Regions from separate parts of the Homo sapiens genome. Here all the other regions are linked to region 2. Evidence: promoter capture Hi-C in human tissues and cell types (Jung and others, 2019). All regions are on one chromosome and are shown on one strand. Each heading gives the region's core, a stretch centred on a gene start or on the middle of the fragment in contact. The rest is flanking DNA. Distances are from core to core; before and after follow the strand shown.

What was found. The method cuts DNA at HindIII sites, captures the fragments that hold promoters and counts their contacts. A contact is called where the count stands out against the background at its distance.
Region 1: a fragment that was not itself captured here is called in contact with the fragment with the promoter of NRDE2 in region 2 in 1 of the 25 tissues and cell types used here (dorsolateral prefrontal cortex).
Region 3: a contact is called between a fragment that was not itself captured here and the fragment with the promoter of NRDE2 in region 2, in 4 of the 25 tissues and cell types used here (dorsolateral prefrontal cortex, hippocampus, mesenchymal stem cells and 1 more).
Region 4: a fragment that was not itself captured here is called in contact with the fragment with the promoter of NRDE2 in region 2 in 2 of the 25 tissues and cell types used here (dorsolateral prefrontal cortex and hippocampus).

Annotation. Positions count from the first base shown.
Region 1 is chr14:90,841,832-90,844,806 of GRCh38, reverse strand. No RefSeq gene overlaps it. Among named protein-coding and RNA genes, the nearest start is that of LINC02321, 15 kb to the right of the region's middle. The HindIII fragment of the contact is 3,190 bases long and covers 1-2,975 here.
Region 2 is chr14:90,330,494-90,333,457 of GRCh38, reverse strand. It overlaps NRDE2 (NRDE-2, necessary for RNA interference, domain containing), which reads left to right and starts at 1,517. Exons shown (of 14, transcript NM_017970.4): 1 at 1,517-1,617. The coding sequence starts at 1,554. RefSeq lists a silencer at 1,284-1,433 and an enhancer at 1,584-1,763. The HindIII fragment of the contact is 6,388 bases long and covers 1-2,964 here.
Region 3 is chr14:90,666,991-90,669,734 of GRCh38, reverse strand. All of the region lies in intron 9 of TTC7B (tetratricopeptide repeat domain 7B), which reads left to right. Among named protein-coding and RNA genes, the nearest start is that of TTC7B-AS1, 26 kb to the right of the region's middle. The HindIII fragment of the contact is 4,615 bases long and covers 1-2,744 here.
Region 4 is chr14:90,648,236-90,651,420 of GRCh38, reverse strand. All of the region lies in intron 13 of TTC7B (tetratricopeptide repeat domain 7B), which reads left to right. It overlaps TTC7B-AS1 (TTC7B antisense RNA 1), which reads right to left. Exons shown (of 5, transcript NR_110134.1): 5 at 2,530-3,049. Among named protein-coding and RNA genes, the nearest start is that of TTC7B-AS1, 7.2 kb to the right of the region's middle. The HindIII fragment of the contact is 3,294 bases long and covers 1-2,938 here.

The sequences.
Region 1 (2,975 bases), core at 173-2,672, 510 kb before region 2:
CAAATTGCTGGGAATACAGGTGAGCCACTTCGTCTGGCCCATTTTGTGTTTCTTTAACTTTGGTCACCTATGCTGTGTTGTGTCCTGTGCTGAGCTTAAACTCAGGTGGGTGTAATGCTGACATCTCAGAGTCAGCCCCACGGATTACCAGCTAACCAGGGCAAATGTTTGGCTATTTATAAGACAGAGAAGAAGTAATCCCCAGGGTAAAACCAGAGGCCATCAAATGCAGTGGACTAAGCTACCGTGTAGAGGTGTGGGGGGAGGGGCTAGCCTTGGACCACTGATCACCACAGGGATAGCTCTGGCTGGCTGCTACCCCATCTGCATGTGGACTTTCTCTGCAGGATGTGGCAAAGGATGGTGAGCCACATACTCAGATTGAGTCAAGAATCTCATTTTTGTAAAAATAATGTATATAAAGCACCCCTGGGTGTTTTAGTAAATATCAGTGTTGATTCTATCCGACTTGTATTATCATTCCAGATGGTACAGCTGAGCCAAACCACCAGTCAGTCCTTCCCAGTTTGTGTCTTTGTGGCTGTTTGAGGCTCTAACTGGTGCTGATGAGTGCATCAAGAGCTCACAAGTGGCTGGGTGTGGTGGCACACACCTGTAATCCCAGCTACTCGGGAGGCTGAATGTGGAGGATCTGTTGAATCCAGGAGGTTGAGACTGCAGTGAGCTATGATCACACCACTGCACTCCAGCCCAGGTGACAGAGAGAGACCCCATCTCTTAAAAAAAAAATCAAAAATTAGACCAGGTGCAGTGGCTCATGCCTGTAATCCCAGCACTTTGGGAGGCCAAGATGGGCAGATCACTTGAGGTCAGGAGCTCGAAACCAGCCTGACCAATATGGTGAAACCCCGTCTCTACTAAAAATACAAAAATTAGCCAGGTGTTGTGGCGGGTACCTGTAATCCCAGCTGCTCAGGAGGCTGAGGCAGGAGATTCGCTTGAACCCGGGAGGTGGAGGTTGCAGTGAGCTGAGAACACGTGACTGCACTCCAGCCTGGGCGACAAAGTGAGACCCTGTCTCAAAAAAAAAAAATTAAGGTCAGGCGCGGTGGCTCACACCTGTAACCCCAGCACTTTAGGAGGCCAAGGCGAGCGGATCGCCTGAGGTCAGGAATTTGAGACCAGCCTGGCCAACATAGTGAAACCCCGTCTCTATTAAAAATACAAAAATTAGCCGGGTGTGGTGGTGGACACCTGTAATCCCACCTACTCAGGAGGCTGAGGCAGGAGACTTGCTTCAACCTGGGAGGCGGAGGTTGCAGTGAGCTGAGATCATGCCACTGCACTCCAGCCTACGTAATAGATCAAGACTCCGTCTCAAAAAAAAAAAAATTAAAATTAGAAAAACTCACAGGAAACAGATTAAGGTCACCCTGGGTCCCTCCATTGGTTCAAGTACAAGTGGCTAAAAAACAACCAAAATAGTAGATAGACCAGCCTGGCCAGAAGCCAGAAGCAGCCTGTGGTGGAAGGAAGACCCAGGGGAAGCCTCTGCCTCAAAGTCCCACCTGCTCAGCAGGTCTGCTCCCACCTCTCAGTGCTGCCTGAGTGCCAATCATTAGAGCATCAGACCTCTCTGGTCCTCAGTGTCCTTATCTGTAAAACAGGGGTAATGTTATCCTTCAGTCAGTTTTTCTCTGTAACAGTTCCTAAGGCTGCAGAAGACTGGAACATTCTCTGGGGTAATTCTTTATACTGTAGAGTCTAAAGAAAGTGTCTATAGAGTTGGGATGCTCCAAAAGCATAGTAGTTATTAATAGGCTGCCAAGACTGTGGGAGGGTGTAAAGCCAGTTGTACGCAACAAAGCTTTGAAAGGCAGCCTAGAACAGGAAGCGTCAGCATGTGCTGCAGACGTCAGGCATGGTGGCCCTGCATGAGATGTGGGCAGAGGGGAAGGCGCAGGCCTGGGCAGTACTTCACAATTTGGGCCTCAAGAGCTCCCCCCACCTCTACAGTGTGGTTATTATTAGGACGAGAAGGAGGTGCAGTAGACTGAAAAAATCCTCAGCTCAATGTACAAGGCTTCCCACGTTGCTGCAGGTGACCTATTTTGGATGCAGAAAAGCATGGTGATGCTGGGTGCGGTGGCTCACGCCTGTAATCCCAGCACTTTGGGAGGCCGAGATGGGTGGATCACGAGGTCAGGAGATCAAGACTATCCTGGCTAACATGGTGAAACCCCGTCTCTACTAAAAATACAAAAAAATTAGCCGGGTGTGGTGGCGGGCACCTGTAGTCCCAGCTACTCGGGAGGCTGAGGCAGGAGAATGGCGTGAAGCCAGGAGGTGGAGTTTGCAGTGAGCCAAGACCACGCCACTGCTCTCCAGCCTGGGCAACAGAGCGAGACTCTGTCTCAAAAAAAAAAATTAAATTAAATTAAATTTAAAAAAAGCATGGTGATAGGGATAGTAATTGCTAGCAATTTGAAAAACCTAGCAACTCTCCGGTGTCTTATCTGATCAGACATGGAAGCCATGTATAATCTTGGCCCACCTTGAATTGCTGTTGACCCTAAGCATATGAGCAAGTTCTGCAAAGCTCCAGTTAACAGTGTGAGGCTCTTTAAACAGGGATTCACACAGGAGCGCCAACTGCATTTCTTTTCTTTTCTTTTTTTTTTTGAGACGCAGTCTCACTCTGTTGCCCAGGCTGGAGTGCAGTGGTGCCATCTCAGCTCACTGCAACCTCCGCCTCCTGGTTTCAAGCGATTCTCCTGCCTCAGCCTCCCAAGCAGGTGGGATTACACATGTGTGCCACCATGCCCAGCTAATTTTTCTATTTTTAGTAGAGATGGGGTTTCACCATGTTGGCCACGCTGGTCTCGAACTCCTGACCTTGTGATCCGCCCATCTCAGCCTCCCAAAGTGCTGGGATTACAGGCGTGAGCCCCCGTGCCCGGCCCACCAACTGCATTTCTAATGCTTGATTTGTTCAGCATAGTGGTAGCATGCAG
Region 2 (2,964 bases), core at 268-2,767:
GCAGACTTCATCAGAGTCCATCCATTCCTTGATTAGATGATTACATTTGCATCTCTGGTTTATAATGTATTTCCTAACTAAAGATCTTTAACTCCCTAGGATCCCAATAAATATATCTTCATTTACCTATCTATTTTCACTTGCAAATATTTCAGTATATATCTCTAATATATAAGAACTTTAAAAAGTAATCTCAGGCTGGGTTGGGGGGTGCTCAGGCACAGGCACCCAGCACTTTGGGAGGCAGAGGGGGGCAGATCGCTTGAGCCCAGGAGTTCGAGACCAGCCTGGGCAACATGGTGAAACCCTGTCTCTATTAAAAAAAAAAAAATTAAGCCAGACATGGTGGTGTATGCCTGTGGTTCCAGCCACTTGGGAGGCTGAGGTGAGGGGATTGCTTGAATCGAGGAGTTCGAAGCTGCAGTGAGCAGAGATCGTACCACTACACTCCAGCCTGGGTGGCAGAAGGAGACCTTGTCTCAAAATAAATAAATAAGGGTCACCTCAGTGACATAAGTACTTTAGTACATCTAACAGAATTCACAAGAATTACTTGTGAATTGCTTGTACTCTGCCTACCTTCTTATTTCTCCATCTATCTTAAAAAGGTCTTTTTACAGTTTGTCCAATCAGAATTATAATGAGGCCACAAATATGTTGTATTTGCTTGATGTGTCTGTAAGATCTTCGTATCTATTACAATCTCCTGCCCTCTTAAAGCCCTTGATATGTTAAGGAAGCACGGTTGTTTTCTATAATTTCCCATATTCTAGATTTGGCTAATTGTTTCTTGGTAGTACAAAGTCTTCTAAGTTGTTCCTTTACTCTCTATATTTCTGGTAGCAAGTGTGATTAGATTTTGGGTGGGAGGAACCGGGGTCAAGAATGCTTCACAGACAGGTATTTCCTAACTATCAAAGACCCTTGAACTTGATGGGACTTTCCATTTTTCCTTGTTCTGGGGTATTTAATATGGTAACCTGATTGAAGTTCGGATATCTCACATGACTTTGAGCCGAACTTGCAGTCGTAATTCACATAATAGCTAACACATATTAAGTGCTTTTCATGGGCCGGACTCAATGCTAGGCCCTTTATAAATATGTTCATTTAATCTTCTCAATATTTTGCAGATAAGGAAAGTAATGCTTAGAGCGTTTAAGTTGACCCAGTTAGCAAGGATGGTGTGAATTTAGGGGTCGAACTGGAATCCCAATTTCCTTAGTCCCTTTCGCGGTCAACAATTCCCTTCTCCGGTTTTCGCAGTTCCGGTTCTCACAGGGTCCCAACCACTAGGAACCCGTCACTCCTCGCTCCGCCCCCCTTGGCCCCGCCCCACCCTGCTTTGCCCTGCCTCTCCCTGCCCCGCCGCGCCCCAGTCCCTTGACGACCCTCCTCTCTGGGCCCCGCCCCTCCCGCTTCGGGGTCAAGCCCCAGAGAGCGCCGCGAAAACCACATTTCCCAGAGTGCACCGCGACGGCAGGGGTCCTCAGACCGGCGCTCGCTCGCCGGCGCCATCCCTATAGAGAAGAACGGAGGTACGGCCTGTGGTCATGGCGCTGTTCCCAGCCTTTGCGGGGCTTAGTGAGGCTCCCGATGGCGGGAGCTCCAGGAAAGGTAAGCACACAAACGAGCCGAAGAAGGCACCTGGGGGGCTTAAGAGGCTGTTTCTCGGGCCCAGGTCTAGACTTTTGCTTTGGATTTGTGTATCCATTTGTATCCCAGAGTTCTCCGCGGCGCTGCAAAGCCTTCTGGGAAAGGCTCAATCCCTCCGAGGTCTGGGGCCCAGAGGCCTGTTCTGGACCAAGGTTGTAGAGTTATGGAGGGGTGGAGAAAGACCAGCAGATGCCCTGGAGCTGGGACTTCTGTACGATGTTGTTAGGTCCTGTTCTTCTTTTCGAGCCTCAGTTACTTCATCTTTAAATTGGGAATAATGATACTCGACATCTCGAGGAAACCCTTGATGCAAATGCAGAATGTTTTTATTACATATTACTTCCTTTCCTGTTATACTTATTTCTGAAATGCTTATTAGATTGGTATTACTTAGCGGCCTAGAGCTAGGGGATTAGTATCCAAAACCTAATCAGTTTCTCTCTGGAGGGGCACAGCACCCAGTGAAAATAACTAACATTTATTCTTGAGGGCCTAGTGTGTATCAGGTTATGGCTTTACACATTTTACTTAAGTCCCAGACATTTCCAGCAGAGCTGCATTGTTCAAAATTGGGGTACATAGTTCATTTAAGAAGTAATTAATCCTGGCCAGGAGCAGTGGCCCACACCTGTAGGTGGAAGGATAGTTTGAGCCCGGGAGTTCATGACCATCATGATCAACATAGCGAGACTCCTGTCTCTTAAAAAAAAAGCCAGGCGTGGTGGTGCACACCTATAGTATCAGCTCCTCAGGAGGCTGAGGTAGGAGGATTGCTTGAGCCCAGAAGTTTGAGGCCGCAGTGAGCCATGATCGTGCCGCTGCATCCTGCCCTGGGGTGGGGGGACCTTGTCTCTAAAAAAAAAAGAAAAAAAAGTAATTCTAAATTATGTGCCATATGTGACAGGGCGCAATTGAGTCTTACCTGTCTGTTATATCCTCTAATATAGTTCCTACACTTTCTGTAACGTTTCTCCTAATTTTTTTTTTTTTTTTTGAGACAGGGTCTCACTCTGTTGCCCAGGCTGGAGTACAGTGGCACTGTCATAACTCACTGCCGCCTCAGACTCCTGGGCTTAACTTCCTGCCTCAGCCTCATGAATAGCTGGAACTACTGGTGTGCACCACCAGGCCTGGCTAATTTTTTTTAATATTTAGTAGAGACGAGGTCTCACTGTGTTGACCAGGCTGGTCTCGAACTCCTGAGCTCAAGCGATTCTCTATCTGAGCCTCCCAAAGTTCTAGGATTACAGGCATGAGCCACTGCGCTTGTCCTATTTCTCATAATTGTGAGTAATTTCTTGTGTAAAA
Region 3 (2,744 bases), core at 179-2,678, 340 kb before region 2:
TGTGATATCTCATTGTGGGATTGATTTTCTTTTCCCTGATAACTAATGATGTTGAGCATCTTTTTATGTGCTTATTGGCCATTTGTATATCTTCTTTGGTGAAACTACTATTCAAGTCTTTTGCCAATTTTAAAGTCTAAATAATAAACTCTGGTCAGCTATATTTTTAGAGATACCACACCTGCTTTTTTTTTTTTTTGTAGAGACGAGACTGTAGAAATCAGCTTGGGCTGGTCTCAGACTCTTGGCCTCAAGTGATCCTCCCGTCTTGGCTTCCTAAAGTGCTAGGATTACAGGCATGAGCTACCATGCCCAGCTTCACTTTCTTGAAATGTCTTTTGATGTGCAAAAGTTTTAAATCTTGATTAAGTCCAGTGTATCTATTTTTTATTTTGTTGCTTATGCCTTTGGTGTCATAACTAAGAATCCATTGCCAAATCCAAGGTCATGAAGGTTTAATTCTTTGTTTTCCTCTAAGGATTTTACAATTTTGCTCTTATATTTGAGCTGTTTGTCCATTTATAGTTTTTTTGTATATGGTGTGAGGTAGGAGTCCAACTCCATTCTTTTGCATGTGGAAATCCAGTTGTCCTAGCACCATTTGTTGAAAAAACTATTCTTTGCCCTATTCAATGGACTTGGCACCCTTATCAAAAACCAATTGGCCATAAATTTATGAATTTTTTCCTGGAATCTTAATTCTGTTCCTTTGGTCTGTATATGTATCTTTATGTAATACCATACTATTTTAATTTCTGTAGCTTAGTAGTAAGCTTTGAAATCAGAAAGTATGAGTCCTTTAACTTTGTTCTTTTTCCAGTTTGTTTCTGGATCCCTTACAATTCCATATGAGTTTGAGGATTGGCTTTTCCATTACTGCAAAAAAAAAAAAAAAAAAAAAAAAAAAGTTGAAATTTTGATAGGGATGCATTGAATTTATAGATCACTTTGGATGACATTGCCGTCTCAACAATGCCTCATAGTTTAACATCAGACCTGTGTGATAATCTCAGTTCTGCTACTTTACATGCTGAATATGAACTTGAACAGATTCCATTACCTCGCTGAACCTGTCCCCTTATATGGAAAACATAGATAATAATAAGATCTACCTTGGAATGTTATTGTGATGATTAAAGAGATAATGTATGTTACTGCAAGAAGTGCATGTTACTATTGTTATTGGTGGCATTAATAATCTGCTTTCTAATGTAAAAATCTCCTTTGTATGAAATAATAACTCTGGCAGATGATCCTTGACCCTTATATAGGGAAGTACCCATTGTACAGTAAAAAAAATTCAGCCCTGGAGTCAGGGAGATCTGTGTTCAAATTCTGGCTCTGCCCTTTCCTAGCTGTGAGACTTTGAGAAATATACTTGGCTACTCTGAGCTCCTACCTCAGAGACTGTTAGGAAGCTCAATAAGATAATGGCTATAATGTAGCTAGCACAGCAATTGATGGGTAATATATATTGTTCGATTCCTCTTTGGTTATTAGAAAGGATTGATCTAAAATGAGTTTCCTTGTAATTTCTACCTATTCTGTCTTTTTGGAGCAGTAGGGCAAGTCCAGCCCCACCTCACTGACAGTCTACCAATTTTTTTTTTTTTTTTGGTTGGTCTTATTATCTATTTTGAGCAGGTAATATTTGCACAAGGGAAGTATTACAACAGAGCCAAGGGGAAACATGAAGAAGAAGTTACTTGTGTATTCTTCTAAAGACTGACTATGAATCCACAGGCCACTATGCATATGTGTGTGTTCCCCTTCAGTGCAAAAGTAGCATGCCACAGGACATAAAATCTATGTTTTATCCAGCTGGTGATCTATCCTGAAGATTGTACCAGATTCATGTGTCTAGATCTGCCTCTTTTCACAGGTGGGAGAATGTTCCATAGTAAAGATGCCCTGGTAATGGATGGCTCCTTCTCCCTATTGAGTCCACCAAATTTTGAAGACAGTTGTCATATTGTCTTTTTTCCTTCAGCCTAAAGTGCCCCCAGTTCCTTTAGAACAAGGGTCAGCAAATTAAAGCGTCAGATGCTAAATATTTTAGGCTTCAAAGGCTAAGAGACAAAACCAAGAATAGCATGTAGGTATAACGAGAGAAAACAAATTTCTGCAAAATTTTAATCAATGAAACTCAAAATATAATGAGTACAACTTTTGTAATATAGATCCATGCATGAGAAGAATGGGGTTGTTTGCGGGGGTAGGGGATAACATTTTGCTTAATTTGGGTTTAAAGTTAATACCCCCTCTCACCAAATTGATGGTGTATGTTCAGCTATAAACGCAATTCTTAACTTTTGGGCTCTAAAAGCAAGCAGTAGGTCATAATGGGCCCTCAGGCCATAGCTCAGCGACCCTGCTTCTGTCCTTTCTGCTATGTCGTTGTCTCCAGTCTTGGCAACTCCAGTACTCCTCCCTGCCTCCATGTTTGCTGTGGCCCTCCTTAAAGGATCTCCAAAAGAATGGATCCCAATTCTCTGTCCAGCCTTCATTCAAGCATTTACCATGCAACTATTTTGTACGTGGTATGTCCCAGGCTGCCGCACTCTCAACTCCTTACTTCCTCCCTTAGTCCTGGCATGGGCTAAGTGGCAGCCATGGTTGAAGGGTTAAAACCCAGTGCCCCAAGCCAGGGAAGAGAGACTGAAAAGACCAAAAGGTGAGAGGCAATTGAGGAGACAGGAGGAATGGAATGCCCATTTTGTGAATTCACTGCATTTTGCAAGGAA
Region 4 (3,185 bases), core at 42-2,541, 320 kb before region 2:
TGGCCTGAATTCTTTTTTGTTCATCTTTTGCTTAAGTTTAAATTCGAAGAGATTTTTAAAATATTAGTTCATATGGGAATAAAGAGTAATAAAATCCCGCTAACCTAACTGATGATATTGCAGAAGGCTAACCTAAATTAGAATTTGTGTGAAATATAGAATGTTTTTCATTTTATTTCAAGTACACATTAACTAGGACTATTCTAGTGAATTGCAGTCCTAACAAAAATCTTTAAGGGAAAGATTTTAAGTAAGTGAAAATGATTTGTATTACTTCTTAAATGTAAATGGATAATTTAAAACTACTTTGATGAGAAGTACTTTCTCTACTATTTGTTTTAAATATTCTCCCCACAATTCTGTTTATACTAATGTTTTGCATTTTTTGTTTAAAAAGAAAACACAATTCAGGAAGGGATGGGGTTGCAGATATAGCACAAGAAAGTTAACTCTTAATTATGACTGCCAGAATTCAGACATATTTGTTCTCTAGTGGATCCAAAGAGGTGATTTTTGAAGACATCCAGGTTGGGTGGCTGCATCTGAATGTGAGACCCTCACCTGTTCCTACACTCATAAGCTCAACCCAGGCAGCTGAACCAATTCATTTGCCCTGTACTAAAGTATAGTGAAGAAGAACATAATATTGTTTGCAAAGCTTCTGAAGATGCTGAATTGATATGACTTGCTTCTTCTGCAGGCTCTCACATCCTACTGAGAAAAGCCATCCTGAAAACAGTTGAGAGCACCTTTCATTGCATGGCCCACAGTATGCATAAAGCCTGGTGCTCCAGGAGGCAGGGGTGGCATGGTGGTGTTTGTTTATCACTCATTGTGGCACAGGGTACACGATCTTGCTTTGCTTTCCCCTTTCTGTCCTAGCTTGAGTTTAAGTGTGGTATGATGTGTGCATATAGGGTGATCAGCCATCCCAATCTCTTGAGGACTGAGCGTTTTCCCAGAACATGGGACTTGCAGTGCTAAAATCAGGAACATCCTGGACAAACCAGGACAAGTTGGTCACCCTGTGTGAGTAACTAACGAGAGATTCCTGAGCAATAGATTTAACCAGGGTTTGCACTTTTTAAAAAACTTAATGCACGAATCCCATGGCCCCTGTAATCAGGACTGAAGGGAAATTCAAGGAGAATTGGCTAAACAAGGCAGCAAGGTTCTGGCTTTCTCTCATTTGCTGGCTGTTCTTGGACAAGAAGCGTAATAGTCGATAACTTCACAAATTGTAGTTACTATTGTTACAAGATATGTGTCTTATGGACTAGGGTCAGCATTGATCAGCCTTCTCTATATTCTTGGTTCAGCTCTAGAGAATGTTGGAAATGGAATCTAAGAGAGCCCTGGGTTAGATGCCACAACATCCTTGGGTTCTAGCCAGGTGATCTGGGAAGCCCATCCGATGCTTTCCAGTAGCAGCCCAGCATGCCTATCTCTGGGCACTGCTCCCACTGCACGATGATGATGGTCATTCTGGGTCTCTCCCTCTGGGGCGGGGGTGGGAGCTCATCAAGGAAAGGCACTAGCATGATTCATCTCCATGCTCCCCAGAAGTTAGCATAGGGCCTGGCATCACATTATAGATATTGCATAATGTGGATGGGTGGATGGTGGATGGATGGGTAGGTGGATGGTTGGATGGTGGATGGATGGATAGGTGGATGGGTGGGTGGTTGGCTGGGTGGATGGGTGGGTAAGTGGATAAAAGGATGAGTGGGTTCTTCTTCATGGGAGAGAAACTGAATTAATTATGTGGAGGTGCTTTGATAAGGGAAGCATTTTGTGAGCATCCTTGTGGTGACATTTTTAGGTCTTTTAGGTATTTCTGAGCAGTCTAGCCAGGTGTTCAGTTTATGGGCACGGAGTTTATGAGGCTGCTTTAGATTCATTTACAGAGTTCAGAAGGCTTGCAATTTTTCTGATCACTAATGTCCTCTCTCTCATCTGCCTGGCCTGAGGATTTCTGTCCGGCGAGTTGCCTGTGGCATACCAAAGGGGCTTTCCCACAGGAAGCTTAGCTGCTGAAGTTGCTCCACGGGAAGCAAGTATTTTAGCATCTACTTGAGATCAACACAGGGAGCTTTTTCTTGTTTTGTTTGGCATTTGCCTTATTTCCTTCAGAGGGTGAAGTGGTCAGTTGAATTCATTAGCCAAGTTGTAGAAATAAGGTTTTTAAAATGTATATGTTTCAGTTGTGCCTCATTAGAAATTTGGCAGTTGAATATGCATCATTAGCCAAGTTGGAAATCCTTCAGATGTTGCCCTAATGCACTCCAGAAATACCAAGATTTCTAGCACTTCTGGTTTGTTCCTTTCACGGTGCTGTGGTTAACAGAGAAAAATCATTTGATGAGGCCAGCATGGGGCCTTTAGCCAGAACTATCTTTATGTACACCCTCAACTCAACAGATCATTGCCAGCTTTTCAGTTGGTTGGTATTGCATAGAGGCAACCATGACTTGATTTATTCGTGAAGAATATGAATTGAACTGAGAAAATTATAATTCTAAGAAGTTCTTTTTGAGGGTTCTGTAAATTTATTATTTGTGAAAGAAGATAAAATAAATCTAAAAATTTCTTCATAATTGTGTATTATTTTTCCTGAATAATTATGAGAGAAACCATGATTTTTCAATCTCACTTTTATAAACACCAAAGAAAAATATTCTTTGATGTACAAATTCATGGAAAGCCAATATTTGTAAAATTATAAAAGCTGCTATATACTGAGTGGACCTTAGAAATAAGCCATTTAGTAGCTGGGCGTGGTGGCTTATGCCTGTAATCCCAGGGTTTTGGGATGCCAAAGTGGGAGGATCACTTGAGCCTAGTAGTTCCAGACTAGCCTGGATAGCATGTTGAAACCCCGGGTCTACAAAAAATTCTATAAATTAGCTGGGCGTGGGGAGCACGCCTGTGGTCCCAGCACCTTGGGAGGCTAAGATGGGAGGATCGCTTGGGCCCTGGGAGGTTGAGGCTGCAATGAGCAGTGATCATGCCACTGCACTCCAGCCTGGGTGATAGAGTAAGACCCTGTCTGAAAAAGAAAAAGAAAAAAAAAGAGAAATAAGACATGTAAAAGGGTAACACAGGCAATATCAGCTTCAGCCTCTTCAACTAAGCTAAGAAAAGTCCTGAGGCTATGTCTTGAGGCCAAGTGAAGAGTCCCCTGG